Regions from separate parts of the Homo sapiens genome. Here regions 2 and 3 are each linked to region 1. The links are contacts of gene promoters, found by promoter capture Hi-C in human tissues and cell types (Jung and others, 2019). All regions are on one chromosome and are shown on one strand. Each heading gives the region's core, a stretch centred on a gene start or on the middle of the fragment in contact. The rest is flanking DNA. Distances are from core to core; before and after follow the strand shown.

Evidence for each region. Contacts are between HindIII fragments. The study calls those that stand out against the background at their distance.
Region 2: the fragment with the promoter of WBP2NL here is called in contact with the fragment with the promoter of RRP7A in region 1 in 1 of the 25 tissues and cell types used here (spleen).
Region 3: a contact is called between a fragment that was not itself captured here and the fragment with the promoter of RRP7A in region 1, in 1 of the 25 tissues and cell types used here (heart right ventricle).

The regions. Positions count from the first base shown.
Region 1 is chr22:42,518,546-42,523,519 of GRCh38, forward strand. It overlaps RRP7A (ribosomal RNA processing 7 homolog A), which reads right to left and starts at 1,251. Exons shown (of 7, transcript NM_015703.5): 1 at 1,169-1,251. The coding sequence starts at 1,241. LOC124900479 (a long non-coding RNA gene) reads left to right here. Exons shown (of 3, transcript XR_007068117.1): 1 at 1-808. RefSeq lists silencers at 1,003-1,132, 1,143-1,312, 1,333-1,392 and enhancers at 1,573-1,632, 2,158-2,452. The HindIII fragment of the contact is 27,172 bases long and covers 1-4,974 here.
Region 2 is chr22:41,995,504-42,000,367 of GRCh38, forward strand. WBP2NL (WBP2 N-terminal like) reads left to right here and starts at 3,285. Exons shown (of 6, transcript NM_152613.3): 1 at 3,285-3,377. The coding sequence starts at 3,316. It overlaps SEPTIN3 (septin 3), which reads left to right. Exons shown (of 12, transcript NM_001363845.2): 12 at 1,399-2,718. The coding sequence ends at 1,464. RefSeq lists enhancers at 2,835-3,351, 3,352-3,866 and a silencer at 3,178-3,237. The HindIII fragment of the contact is 18,305 bases long and covers 1-4,864 here.
Region 3 is chr22:41,773,733-41,778,419 of GRCh38, forward strand. MEI1 (meiotic double-stranded break formation protein 1) reads left to right here. Exons shown (of 31, transcript NM_152513.4): 21 at 2,370-2,535. Among named protein-coding and RNA genes, the nearest start is that of CCDC134, 25 kb to the right of the region's middle. The HindIII fragment of the contact is 7,041 bases long and covers 1-4,687 here.

The DNA.
Region 1 (4,974 bases), core at 1-2,500:
GGTACACCAGGGCCTCACACATGCTGGCCTCTCTACCTGGCGTGTCACCCTCTTCCCTCCCGCTCACCTCAGGTTTAGCTCAAACCTCGCTTCCTCAGGAGAGCCTTAGCATCACCTCCGCCCCTCCTGCCAGCTCAGATCCCACTGCCTGTGCCTTCACAGCTTCTCTTAACAGTCTGGAGGCTATATTGATGAGATTCTTTGGTTAATCGCTGGCACACCCATGACTGTAATCCTCATAAAGCTAGGAACTGCTTCTATTTTTCTCACACCTCCGTCACAGTACCGGTTGGCGTAGAGCTGCGGTCCCTGAACTCAGGAAGCTCAGTTGCAATAACGGAGAAGACAATTAACAAGCATACAGCAAACTTGTATCAATTGTGAAAGAAACATTACAGGGTGATGGGGTGGCAGAGGTCTTCTTTCCATAGGCCATCACGGATGGCCTCTTTGAGGAAGCAACATTAAAGCTCAGGCCAGAACGCCACTGTGCAACAAACCGGCACAGCACGTGCAAAAACCCAGAGGGGGGAAAAAGCATGTTCCCTCAGAGGAACAGAAAGAGCTTTAGGTCGGCACCAGCCAGACCACGTGGCCCACACAGGTTAAGAAGTCTGGTTTTTGTTTTAGAAGCTACCTGATAAAGCCACTGGAGGGAATGCAGTAGGTGTGGCGCCTATCGTGGGCGCGGCAGACATGATCGAATCTAAATGTCCTTAAAAGAACATTCTGGCACGTGGGTGGAGAACAGAAGCAGGGGCAAGAGGAGAAGGAGGGCAACCGAGTAGGAGGGCCTATAACAGCCCAGGTAAGAGCTGATGGGGGATGGACTAGGAGCAGAGGCGATGAGAAGGGGATGGGCTCACCTGGACGAGCGGGTGTGGACGGAAATGGGTTTGTCCTGGGTGAGAGTGTGGACAGAGGCGGGCTCACCCAAGGGAAGCGTGGACCAAGTTGGGCTCGCCCCGGGAGAGTGAGCAGGCAGAAGGGCGCCGCCTGGGTCCTCGGGACCCCGGAGCCTCAAGACCTGCGGAGCCTGGGGCCACGGGCCACCGGGGCTCACACCCAACCGTGCGGCCGCTCCTGGGGACCCCCGGCCGTCGCCAACCCCCAAACACCTCCCGGCGATGCCTGACCGCCCCCGGTCTCGCGTCCCGGAGCCCCTCACCTGCGTAGCCCAGTGGGCTGGGGATACGGTCCTCCGGGTCCCGCGCGGCGCACTTCCTCCTGCGCGCCACCATCTTGCCACCCGGGAGCGCGGGGGCCGCCGGGAGTTGCGGTTCGGCGCCGGCGCGAGCGCGTTTTCGTGGCGCCTGCCCCGCCCCCTCACTCCAAGCCCGCCTCCCCGGCCCCGCCCGCCATGGCCCAACCTTCATCCGCTCAGAGATAAATCAGCGCGCGAAAGTGGGAGCGAATGTCAGAGTTGACCCCGGCCAGTCACGAGTGCGAACTCAGCTTTCCACTCATGCATTCACACGTTGAATAGGCAGTGTGAGAGAAATCCAGGATGGCTGCTAGGTTTTCAGTCTGAGCAACTAAGAGGATGGTGTTGCCATTGACTGAGATGGGAAGACTGCAGGAGAGGGGCCTGCTTGGGGGTGAAAATGGAGTAGATCAGTTCTCTGTGAGCCGTGGTGAGATGCCCATTAGGCCACTCAGGGGACATGTCAGGTGGGCACTTAGATATGAGACTGAACAGACTGAACATCAGAGATGTCAGGCCTGGAGCAATACACACGGGACTGGCCATGGATAGGTTATTGACAGTTACGAGAGGAGCCGGGTGCGGTGATTCATGCCTGTAATCCCAGCAATTTGGGAGGCCGAGGGGGGCGGATCACTTGAGGTCAGGAGTTCCAGACCAGCCTGGCCAACATGGTGAAACCCCGTGTCTACTAGGTACAAAAAGTAGCCGGGCGTGGTAGTGCATGCCTGTAATTCCAGCTACTCGGGAGGCTGAGGCAGGAGAATCGCTTGAACCCAGGAGGCGGAGATTGCAGTTAGCCAAGATCGCCCCACTGCAATCCAGCCTGGGCAACAGAGCGAGACTCTGTCTCAAAAAAAAAAGAAAGAGAAAAAAAAAGAAAGTTATGAGAGGGTGTGATCGCCAAGGGAGCAAGTGTAGATAGGGGAGAAATGAAGTCCAAGGACTCCACTTTTCTGGACTCCAAAGGGCCTCTCAGACTGTGTACCCGCCAGCCCTTGATGTATCTACTATTTCTCTTTTCCCAGTGTACAGTTGCTTCTTGGAAATGCTGTCGGCCCCTTTGGGGAAAGATTAGGAGCCTACTACTGCAAATATTTGTGGTCTGGAGGGGACCCAGCCTCCCTTTCAGTCAGTGACCTCTGGTTCTGAGGCCTAGCTTAGGCCTGGAAACTGGATGAGGGGTTGGGATTTTCCATCAGCAGCTGCCATTACTGTCCTGTTCGCTCGTTTTTTGTTTTTGATCTTTCTTTGCTTAGCGCAGTCAAGCAGTGTTGGGGCTTCCGTGGCCCCTGGGAATACCGTGGTCTACTAGCATTCACCAGAGACTCCTGTGCGCCCAGGATCCCTGGCAGCCACTCTGGCCTTGCTCCTGTTCTGACAGTCACATCAACCGAACCTCTGCTCTCTGGAATCCTATCTCCTGCTGACCTTTCCGAGCCCGGCTCCAGTCCTATTTGCCCTCTTCTACCCTGGCCTCAGAGGACGGCCATGCCGATTGCCCATTGATGCCTAGACCCCCCACTAGTCAAAGCAGTCTCTGGTGAACCCTCCAGAAATACGGTCATCTGGCTTCTCAGATGTTGCATAATAAATCTGTGCCTGCACATCCCCCTCCCCGAGGCCTTTGGCTCCTTCTCAGTGCCCTGCCACCATCGTTCTGTTATCTCCCTCTCATGTATTGCTTCCACGCTTCAAGGAGCCATCTCGATGGATATCAGGACTGGCCACACAACATCACTTTTTTTTTTTTTTTTTTGAGATGGAGTCTCGCTGTGTCGCCAGGCTGGAGTGCAGTGGCGCGATCTCCGCTCACTGCAACCTCCGCCTCCTGGGTTCAAGCAATTCTCCTGCATCAGCCTCCTGAGTAGCTGGGATTACAGGTGTGCACCACCATGACCAGCTAAATTTCTTATTTTTGATAGACACAGAGCTTCGCCATATTGGCCAGGATAGTCTCGATCTCTTGGCCTTGTGATCCGCCCACCTCGGCTTCCCAAAGTGCTGGGATTACAGGCATAAGCCTTTTTTTTTTTTTTTTTTTTTTTTTTTTGAGACGGAGTCTCACTCTGCTGACACCCAGGCTGGAGTGCAGTGCTGCCATCTCAGCTTACTGCAACCTCCACCTCCCGGGTTCAAGCAATTCTCCTGCCTCAGCCTCCCAAGTAGCTGGGATTACAGGCATGTGCCACCACACCCAGCTACTTTTTTGTATTTTTAGTAGAGACAGGGTTTACCATGTTGGCCAGGCTGGTCTTGATCTCCTGACCTCAGATGATCTGCCCACCTCGGCCTCCCAAAGTGCTGAGATTACAGGTGTGAGCCACTGCACCCAGCCTAGAATTCAAGACTCTTGAGCCCATCTATCCAGACGTTCCCTGCCCTAGGTGACAGTGTCCGCTCCTTCACTTCTGTGCTCCTTGACTGGAGCACAGCACTTAGCACAGCCGTTCATCTGCCCTGATTCAAACTCCACAGTTCTCATCAGGTTCTAGGCCTTTATCAGCACAATGTGACCTGTCTTTAAACACGTCTCTGGAAGCCCCTCCTGATTTTCACCTTGGGCTATAAGTTGATAAATGGCTGTCCTGAGGCCTGTTGTTTTCTTCCTTCAGCCCACTGATGCCACTCGATCAATTAACTCCACTTTCTTTATAATTACCACTGCCCATGTATTTCATGGGTCAGGAATTTGGGCAATGCTCTGCTAGGAGATTTTGTTTCTCCCTGTGGCACTGACTGAGGGCATTTGATGGTATTCAGCTGGCATATGGGCTGCACTAAAGGTTCCAAGTCACTTCACTCACATCGCAGCATCTCAGCAGATGAGTCCGGCATCTCAGCAGGGATGGCTGGTGATAGAGTTTGAGTATTTGTCTCCGCCCAAATCGCATGTTAAATTGTAATCCCCAGTGCTAGAGGTGGGGCCTGGTGGGAAGTGTTTGGATCATGGGGGCCTCATGGCTTGGCGCCGTCTTTGCGTCTTTGCGATCGCGAGTTCTCGCGAGATCTGTTTGTTTAAAAATGGGTGGCTGCTTCACCCCCCACTTTGTTGGTCAGGCTTTCACCATGTGAAGTGACCCCTCACACTTCGCCTTCCACCATGAGTCAAAGCTCCCTGAGGCCTCCCCAGAAGCAGATGCAGCCATGCTTCCCGTACAGCCTGCAGAACCAATTCAACGTCTTGGCTTTATAAATTCCCCAGTCTCAGGTATTTCTTCATAGCAGTGCAAGAATGGCCGAATATGGCTGGGCTCAAGTGGGACTTGTCAACTAGAGCACCCACCCATGGATTTCCTAGCATGTGGTCTCAGTAGTCAACTTTTTTTTTTTTTCCTGCTTGCTGGGAGGAGGAGGAGGGAGAAGCGACGGGCTTCATTAGGAACGGTGAGTTTGCGACTCTGCCGCTAAGTGGCAGCTCCAGCTCACCCCCCCAGCTCCCTCCCACAGGCCACGGCTGGGCATGGAGAACTGGTGACTTCAGAGGCCCGGAGAGAAAAGACGGGGGAGAGCGAGGGGCCGCCGTGCCTGAGGTCTGGGGGTGACAGCAGAGGATGGCCAAGGAGTGCAGGGCCAGGTTGCCCTGCCCTGTCTAAGAGAGTCTTACCGAATATAGAGGTTGAATTGTGCTCCCCAAGAGACATGTTGAAGTATGTTTTTTTTGAGATGAAGTCTCACACTGTCTCCCGGGCTGGTGTGCAGTGGGCGATCTTGGCTTGCTGCAGCCTCCACCTCCCGGGTTCAAGTGATTCTCCTGCCTCAGCCTCCCG
Region 2 (4,864 bases), core at 2,035-4,534, 520 kb before region 1:
CCTTTCCCTCCTTCCCTCATACATTGCTTTCTCTCCCTCTCCTGCGTGTCTCTGACATCTCTCACTTCCTTTTAGATGAATCTACTTTAGGTTCATTCCTATATTTAGCATTTATGCCCAGTCTACTTCCAGAAATGACTTTAGACTGCCTTTCACATAAAATCACAAAACTACAGGACAGTACAAACAGATTGCCAGAGAAATCTGGGTCAAAGAAAGGAATAGGAAAGAAAGTTTCTGTAGTCAAGCACCTGAACAGGCCCTGAGCTCACAGGCAGCCAATGTAAAGAGGGAAACACAGTGAGTTATGCAGTTCCCAGTGTCCAGTTAAAGGAAGCACACATGCTAGTCATGTGAGACAACCTTTTATTGGGACATCAGGTTCTAGAACTAATTCTAAAGAAGTATCAGAAACAATATACATAATTTGTCTTTCTTAGTAATTTGGCTTCAAAGACAAATTTTTGACCACACCTCCGTTTTCTCCGTCAGACTTCTCTCCCTTCTAAGCAGGCTTCTCTGTTGCTCCATTTGCTTCATACATACTTGACCTCTCTTTTCTATTCCCCATCACTTTTGTGCTGAAGCTAATCATATTTATGTCTGTCTTTCTCTACTTTTCCCTAATTCCCTCTCCTCCTGACTCCTGTAGACATTCCCAATGATACCCACCGTCATACATTTAGGCTTTTCTTGCCTTTCCCTGAAGCCCTGTATTTATTAATGCATATATTTCCCCTGCTTGTTGTACAAGTAAGTTACTCTTTTCCTTTAATCTGTAAGATTCATGAAATTCGGGGCCAGGGAAACAGTTTAGCCTTAGGGAAGGGAAAACACTAAGTGAAACTGTTTACAATAACCTCATACAACCTTCTGTCCCATCTCCTGGTTCAGCCTAGGTGTTTCACTGGTCCTCTATGAATCCCAGCACTTATAATCCCAGTCTTTTATCACTCAGGTGCTAGGAAAAAAAACATAGACTCAAGACCCAAGATTCAATGGACCAGGAGAAAGGGGGGCGGTGATCAGGTCACCAGTGACCCCAACCTATGCTCTCGGTCTTTCCTGGAGGCTGCCAACCCAGCCCTCATCCTCCCTTGCTCACAAAGTTACAGGGTAGGCACCTGTCAGGACAGAACAGCAGCAGCGCTACAGCCCAGAGGTTATACATTTCAACAGAACAGGGATCCTTGGCTACTGTAGAAGCAGTCCTGTATGGAGACCTTGGACCAGCAGGGGAAGATCTATGGGCATGGGAGGTGGGCGTTGGAAAGGCTGAGTAGGAATGGTGCCTGGCACCCCTGAACCATGATCTGAGCCTCCCTGGAGAAGGTATTTTATATGTCTGCTGCCAGCTGCTGGTCTCCACACCCTCAACCGTTCTCAACCCCCCTGCAGGGAGAAGGCCTCCTGGGCACTGTCCTTCCACCTGTGCCAGCCACCCCCTGCCCCACTGCTGAATGAAGGCCATTTCAAGCGCTGCTTCTCACTCCATTCCTCTCAGCTGTTATTGCTGCAGGGCCAAGCCCTTTTTAGTGCTGTGCTCGTCCAGCTCACCACCACAGCCCCTCTCAGCCCTCAGTAGGTGGGAGGGGCCAGCTGCCTCTTTAGGCCAGTTGCATCCTCCATTTATCCAAACCACTCCTCTCCTCCCAGTGGAGTGGGGTTCTGCCAGTACAGCCCTACTGCATCATCTGCGTCAGCCGGTCCTAGCCCATCTGCAGGGTGAAAGAACTCATCAAGAGCTCCTTCTGCCCTTGTAAGCCCATCCCAGCTACTTGTAACCATCTCTAAGGGCAATGGCATTGCTCCCTACCCATTCATCTGCATGAGCTACTCTTGGCTTCCTTAAAGGGTCAAGAAAGCAATTTTTCTGCTTACTAGATTCATTGAGATCAGCTGTGTGAGCCCCAAAGTGGGACAAGGGTGTCTCCTTCATTACTTAAAGATATTCATGAGGGTGGGTCACTACAGATGTTGGGGAGCAAGGGCTAGGATCACTTTTTAAAAAATCACCACTTGTGGCTGTCCCAGAGTGCGGTTGTACATCCTCCCCACCTCATAACGCAGCCACTGAGGAAGAGTGGTTTTCCTAAGAAGACATTGCTGGAGTTGACTTTCTTCTGTCCAAACAAACAAACAAAAACTAAACACACACACAAACCCCCAGAAACCCACAATATGTACACGCTAAGGAAAAACTAGCACCCTTCTGTCCACTCAGCAATAAGAGGGATCTCTTCCCACCTACCCTACCTACTCCTACCCCCAACCCCCTTCCCCATTAATGTGAGTAATGAATTAGCCTGACCACAGGTGGTCACTGTAGGCTAATGGAAAATACCCAAGGGAGGGCAAAGCCCCCCATCAGATGCATGAATGTTTGCGAATGTTGACTGCCACTGCCCCACACACTGTGTCTTTATAGAATTCCCCTTTGCCCACCCTCTTCCTGTCTCCACCTGGACACAACTTGCTCAAAGGCTGGTGACTTGTGGGCCATTCATCTACAACCAAGTCCTGATGGAGCAAGAGGCCCACGCCTAGGGGATGCAAGAACAACCCGTTTCTTAAATGTTACCAGTCCCAGCCAATCTTACGGTGACATTACAGTTAAATTTCCCAATTGAAAACAAGCAAACAGACACTCAAACTGGTCCTGTAATTGTTGCTAGACTTTATGTGTTGTACAACTAAACATTGCTGTTTGAACAGTAACTGCCTGGCCTGTCTTATTTGTGCTCCTTGACCAAATCAGCCATTATGTCATCTCACCCATGTGTGGAGGGTGAGACTCTCTTGGTAAGAAATAGCCACAGATATTAGAGATGAAAACACTTTGTGAGGTCAGTTCATCTTCAGTTGGCGTCAGGTCGGGCCTCAGTCATTATTTTCTAGTGTTTCATAACCAAAGTGAGTAATGGATGGGAGGTTGAGGTGGGAAGATGGCTTGAGCATGGGAGGTTGGAGGTGCAGTGAGCTGAGATCATTCCTGACAGGACCAACCCAAGTCCATACCTAAAGGCAGGGGGCTAAGGGGGCAGGTGAGGTCGGGAGGCCACTCACCTATCACTCACCCCTTCGCGCTCGAGCCAATTCTCAGGGCCCGCCTCTTTCTCCCCTTTCTCGGCGGGGGCCTCTACCCTGACTCCGCCCCGCTCCCCGGGCACTGCCCCACCACGTGACCCGGTCTCGCTCCTCCTCCTCCTCCTCCTTACGTCATAATCTCCGCCCTCCCCTTCAGAACCGCGCCCCACAGCTCGGCGCAGGTCCCGCCCCTTTCCATCTACGGGGCGGCAGGAGGCCCGAAGCAAGATGGCGGTGAATCAGAGCCACACCGAGAACCGCCGCGGAGCCCTCATCCCTAACGGTGAAAGGTGCCTGAGGGGAAGCACGGCGTGCTGTCGGAGGAGAGGAGACGAATGAGATAGACATGGCGGCTCGCAAACTCTCAGCGAGTCAGGGACTTTGCCGCCTTTTTTGGGCGCGGCGCTCTTAGCTCCGCCCCCGACCTTTGGGAGCGCGCGCCCCTCACTGGTGTTCCGGCATGTGGAGGTGGCGGAGGCCGGAACGCGTGGCCTCGCGCGTTTGAGGGGTGGGGGTGGGAATGCGCCTTTTCAAGGCGCGGGGCCCAGACGCATGTCTCCTCAGGGCGGGGCGGGGAGGGGGTGCGAGACGCGTGTGTCCTTCGAAGAGAGGCCGGAGCTGACCGGCGGTTGTGAGCAGCCGGGGGCCTTCGGTGGCAGCGTGGCTGCCCTTGGGTGCCTGCGACTTTGTTGGATGAGGACAGGTACTGGGTGTGTATCTCCTCCTACTTCCACGAACAAGGTGTCGCTCTTTGGTAAGAGGGATGAGGAGGTCGAGTGTGGATCATTCTGGAAAGATCTCAAACTGTTGTGGGGCTTCTCCTTGGACCTGGAAACTTTCTAAAGCCATGTTTCCTCCTTGCTCCAACCAGGGAGATGTCTGCTTTTAAAAACAAAATTGAAAAAATTGAGGCCAGGTGCAGTGGCTCATGCCTCTTATCCCAACAGTTTGGGAAGCTGAGGTGGCCCAGGAGTTTGAGACAAGACTGGGCAACATAGTGAGACCCCATCTCTACAAAAAGTAGAAAATTAGTGGGCCATGGTGGTGTGCACCCATAATCCCAGCTGCTTGGGAGGCGATGGTAAGAGGATTGCTTGAACCCAGGAGTTTGGGCTGCAGTGAGCTCAGATTGTACCACTGCACTCCAGCCTGGGTAACAGAGCCAGATCCTGTCTTAAAATAAAAGATGGGACTGAACAGATGCCTGGGCACAACAAAGCACTGTTGGTCGCAGGAAGCTGTGGGGCTTACACCAGTTGCTTTGCTCCTTGCGGTGCCTGCTGCTGGCCCCTGAGCTCTCTACTGGAGCAGACTCAGCCAGAGGGGTGCCCATCTCCACCTTCAAGCACACTTGTTCACTAAGGCCTGACTCCACTGCGCTCACCTCTTTACCCCACACGCCCCCTTTCCCGTTTCCTACACTCAAACTCAGTCTCCCCCGCTGTGCAGTTCTAAATTGCGCTCCTTTCTGGGCTCTGACTTGCCCTCAATTTCCTTTTCTCCCAACCAGCATTGAAACTCAAGCTGGATGATGTGCTTGGGGCCAGCACACTCAGGTCAGTTTGAATGTAGTTGTCAGGAAGATCGAAGTAGACGTTACCAAATGCTGATATCCAGGTCTTTCTTCTATCTTTCCTTCCTCCAGAAAGTTTTCTTGACAGATTTATATGGGCCTTAGAGGTTGTATGTTCTCACCTGCTTCCTACGTACCTCTGCTGCTTTGTTCCATTTTGTGGTAGATGATTGCTCACCACTCTGACAGTGGTGTCCCCGTGAG
Region 3 (4,687 bases), core at 2,087-4,586, 740 kb before region 1:
GGCATGGTGGCACGTGCCTGTAGTCCCAGCCACTCAGGAGGCTGAGACAGAAGAATCGCTTGAACCCAGGAGGCGGAGGTTGCAGTGAGCCAAGATCGAGCCACTGCACTCCAGCCTGGGCGACAGAGCTAGACTTCGTCTCAAAAACACAAAACAAAACAAAAGAACAGCAAGGAACAACTTTATTGTCTGTTCATATATATAATTCTTACCATTTCTCCCCAGCTTCTAGCCAGAGGAAGGAAAAAGAGTCTAAAAATTTTGTGTTGATACCAATTTCTGTTTTTTATATGGGTAATTAACAGCTGAAAACAAAGCTGTTAATTGCCACTCTTATCAATGGGTGGTCTTTCATGTAGGTTTTTTAGATGTGAAGGGACAATGACATCACAGAAACTCTGTTTGTTTCCTCTTTGGCCAAGTTACGCTGGTCTGTCAAGACCCAGAGAGTTCTGGACAGCAGAGACTACAGATTGGGTCATAGTTTTGCCCAGAGCCTTCCCACTGATCCATATGGTGGGGTCCTCACGTTCCTCTTCCTCCAGCATTCACCATAGCCACACAAAGCTGAGTAGCCCCTTCCTTTTATACCTTTAACATTCATTAACTCAGACTTCTGAGGGACCACCTCTGTGGCAGTGGGGCAGTGATGTGTTGGTGAAGGCACAAGACCAGGAAACTGGTTTGACTCTGGGATCTATGACCTTGGGCAAATCATGCCCCTCCCTTCCCGTCGGGCTTCAGCCTCATACTCTGTAAAGTAAAGGTATTGGAAAAAATTATCTAGATTCTCTCTAGCCCTCCCATTCTGTGACCTTTTTCTTTTCAGAGATGTTTTCTGAGTCTCTACAAGGTGACAAAGATGAAGTAGACCTCATCCCTTCCCTTCATTAACTCACAGTGCAGTTTAATTTACAACTTTATTACTTTCTTGATATGCAAACTGATTAACCTGCCCCAGTTTTCTCATTTGAAAAATTGGGGTGACACCTATATGGAAGAGTTATTGTAGAGGTATAAATAATGTATAAACAAATATACAGCTACTGTATAAACACAACATAGTACCTGACATTATTAGGCCCTGAGTGGTTGTTATTGATATATAGTTGTTTTTCCAGCAACTGCGGAGGTTTCTGAGAGCCAAACTTAGACATCCCTGTGACCCCATCCCTCTCCTTCTGCCCAGTGATCAGCACACCTGGGTTTGTCTGGCCAGATGCATTGTAGCCATATCTCTCTGTGTGTCAGTAGCTGTCCTCCCTGGAGAGGGAGTCTGTGTGACCTTGGATTCATAACCCTCAGTCCTAACTGGCCCAGCGCATTAGCCTGTCCAAAGGAATTGGCTTCTTTGAGCTAGCAGGTGCCAGGAGCTATCAGTAGGGTAGCCTCTGGTGCAGCTTTCTGACTGGCTTTGTCTTTAACATATACTCACTAAAATAACTCTGAAAGCAAAATAAAAAGCATCTTCCCATCTTCCGAGCCTAAGACCTTTATAGCTTGGGGCAGAGATAACCAGATGCCTTGGTAGAGAACGGGCCTGACCTGGTCCTCACTTGCCTTTCTGTGCACTGAATCTGTCCTAATTTATCCTCTGCCTGCCCAGTGACATCATTTCTCTTTCCTTCTTCTCTTCTTTAAGGCACACTCAGGTTCCCTGTCTTGAAAACAACCTCTTGACCCTAATCCTACCATTTGCAGGAGGGAGGCATCCTGGAAAATAGAGCTTTGGGCTTGGAGTTAGGAGACTTGCATTCAAATTCTGTCTGTGCCACTGGCTTATATGACCTTTAGCAAGTCATGTAATCTCTCTGAGCCTGTTTTCTCCTGTTTAGGATGGATTTAATAGGATGGACCTATTCTTTTTTTTTTTTTTTTTGAGACAGAGTTTTGCTCTGTCACCCAGTCTAGAGTGCAGTAGTGCGATCTCGGCTCACTGCAAGCCCCGCCTCCCGGGTTCATGCCATCCTCCTGTCTCAGCCTCCGGAGTAGCTGGGACTACAGGCACTTGCCACCACGCCCAGCTAATTTTTTTGTATTTTTAGTAAAGACGGGGTTTCACCGTGTTAGCCAGGATGGTCTCAATCTCCTGACCTCGTGATCCACCCGCCTTGGCCTCCCAAAGTGCTGGGATTACATGCGTGAGCCACCATGCACGGCCTAGGATGGACCTATTCTAAGGGATGGTTTTGAGGCGTCAGTGCACCTAGAAGAGCCTTTGGTACATAATAGGTGCTGAGTAAGTGACAGATTACCCAGTTTTTGTGACATCATAATTATGGGCCCTTTTCCTGCCCCTCTATTCCTCATTGTCACTTTTCCCCAACTGCAGTACCCTCTGATCTCTGGCTTTCTTCTCTCCTGCTCAGGACCTCATCTATTCCAGCCCAGTGGACACAGCTCACAAGGTACTGATTAGCCTGAGGACCTTCCTGAGGAGGAATGAGGATATCCAAGTGGGCGGTCTTATCCGAGGCCACTTCCTGCTGATCCTGCAGCGTCTGCTAGTGGAGCATGGGGCATCCCCATCAGGAGGTCAGTCTGCAGGTGCTGTGGGCACACTTTGACCTGAAAGCCAGTCGAGAATGGGCATCTCTACCCTTGTTAGGTCTGCTCCAGGAGAGAGAATCAGGGTTTTATCTGAAAAAGAAAGCCAGGCCATTGTGGCATCAAGCTAAACTTCACCTCCTTTCTCTCACTGCAGAGTGGGCGTACAACATGCTTGGTTTGCTGTGTGTGTGTTTAACATGAGTGGATGTGTTTGATGTGTGCATGCATATCCCCACCCTGTGCAGCATGTGCTCAGTGTTGTTTGTCACAAGCATGGCAGCCCCCTGTGGGAAGAAGAAAGTGAGAAATCTGGAGGAGGATGGAGGCAGCAGCAGTCCGCAGGGGCTGGGGAGGGAGGTGGATCTGTGATGTGTTGGAAGCTCCTAGTGAGATCCGGGGGATTAGTTTCCAAATCTGGAATGGTACTCACTGGAGTCAAGGAAGCTTGATGTTTGGTACAGTATGGAGACACTGAAAATTTGGATTGGTTTATTTTATTGTATTTATTTATTTTATATTTTATGTATTTATTTTATTATTATTTTATTTTTGAGACAGTCTCACTCTGTCACCCACGCTGGAGTGCAGTGGCAAGATCTCTGCTCACTGCAACCTCTACTTTCCAGGTTCAAGCAATTCTTGTGCCTCAGCCTCCCAAGTAGCTGGGACTTACAGGTGTGTGCCACGACACCCAGCTAATTTTTTTGTATTTTCAGGAGAGACGGGGTTTCACCATGTTGCCCAGGGTGGTCTCAAACCCCTGAGCTCAAGTGATCCGCCCACCTCAGCCTCCCAAAGTGGTTGGATTACAGGGGTGAGCCACTGCGCCCAGCTTAGTTTTTTTCTATTTTTAGAGAAGCTGAATTTTAAAAATAATTTTTTTTTTTTTTTGAGAGAGGGTCTCACTCTGTCGTTCAGGCTGGTGTGCAGTGGCGTGATCTCGGCTCACTGCAACCTTCACGTCCTGGGTTCAAGTGATTCTTCTGCCTCAGCCTCCATAGTAGCTGGAATTACAGGCATGCGCCACTGCACCTGGCTAATTTTTTGTATTTTTATTAGAGGTGGGTTTCACTATATTGGCCAGGCTGGTCTCGAACTCCTGACCTCAAGTGATCCGCCCGCCTCAGCCTCCCAAAGTGCTTGGATTACAGGTGTGAGCTACCACACTCGGCCTAAAATTATATTTCTAAGCAAAGCGAAAGGCAATCTGTGGCTACCTGACAGAGGACTGAGGGTTTGGAAGTAGATTTAAAGGTGTCAAGAGGAGATGAGTTATTTCTTTTCAGGGAAGGACAAGCCATGTTTAGCTGATAATACTGGTTAAGAACCTTAAGATGTAGTGGAAACATAGTGGGAAGGCCATGGGCATTGGATTCAGATTTGGGTCTATTTGGGCCATAGACTGGGTGACTTATAAACAACAGGAATTTATTTCTCCCAGTTTTGGGGGCTGGGAAATCCAAAATCAAGGTACTGAAAGATTCAGTGTCTGGTGAAGGCCTACTTCCTGGTTCATAAATGGCTGTCTTCTTTCCTTCCTTCCCTCCTTCCTTCCTTCATTCCTTCCCTGCTTCCTTCCTTCCTTCCTTCGTTCCTTCCTTCCATCCATCCTTCTTTCTCCTTCATCTTCTTCTTTCTTCTTCTTCTTTTCTTCTTCTCCTCTTGTTCTTCTTCCTCTTTTCCTCCTCTTTCCCCTCCTTCTCCCCTCCCTCCTCCTCCTTCCTTCCTTCTCCTCCTTTCTTCCTTCTCCTCCTTTCTTCCTCCTCCTTCTCCCCTGCCCCCCACAGCCTTGACCTCCTAGGCTCAAGCAATCCCCCAACCTCAGACTCCTGAGTAGCTGGGGTTATAGGCATGTGCCAGCATGATGACTTGTCTTCTTACTGTGTCCTCACATGACAGAAGGGGTGAGGGAGGGAGCTCCTCGCAGTTTCTTTCAAAAGGCCACTCATCCCATTCATGAAGATTCTACCCTCATGATTCAGTCATCTACCAAAGGCCTCACTTCCTAATACTATTACATTGGGGGTTAAGATTTCAACATGAATTTTGGAGGAACACAAACATTCAGACCACAGCATCCTGCCACTTTCTGGCTGTGGGACCTTGGAGAAGTCACTCAGCCTCTCTGAGCCTCAAT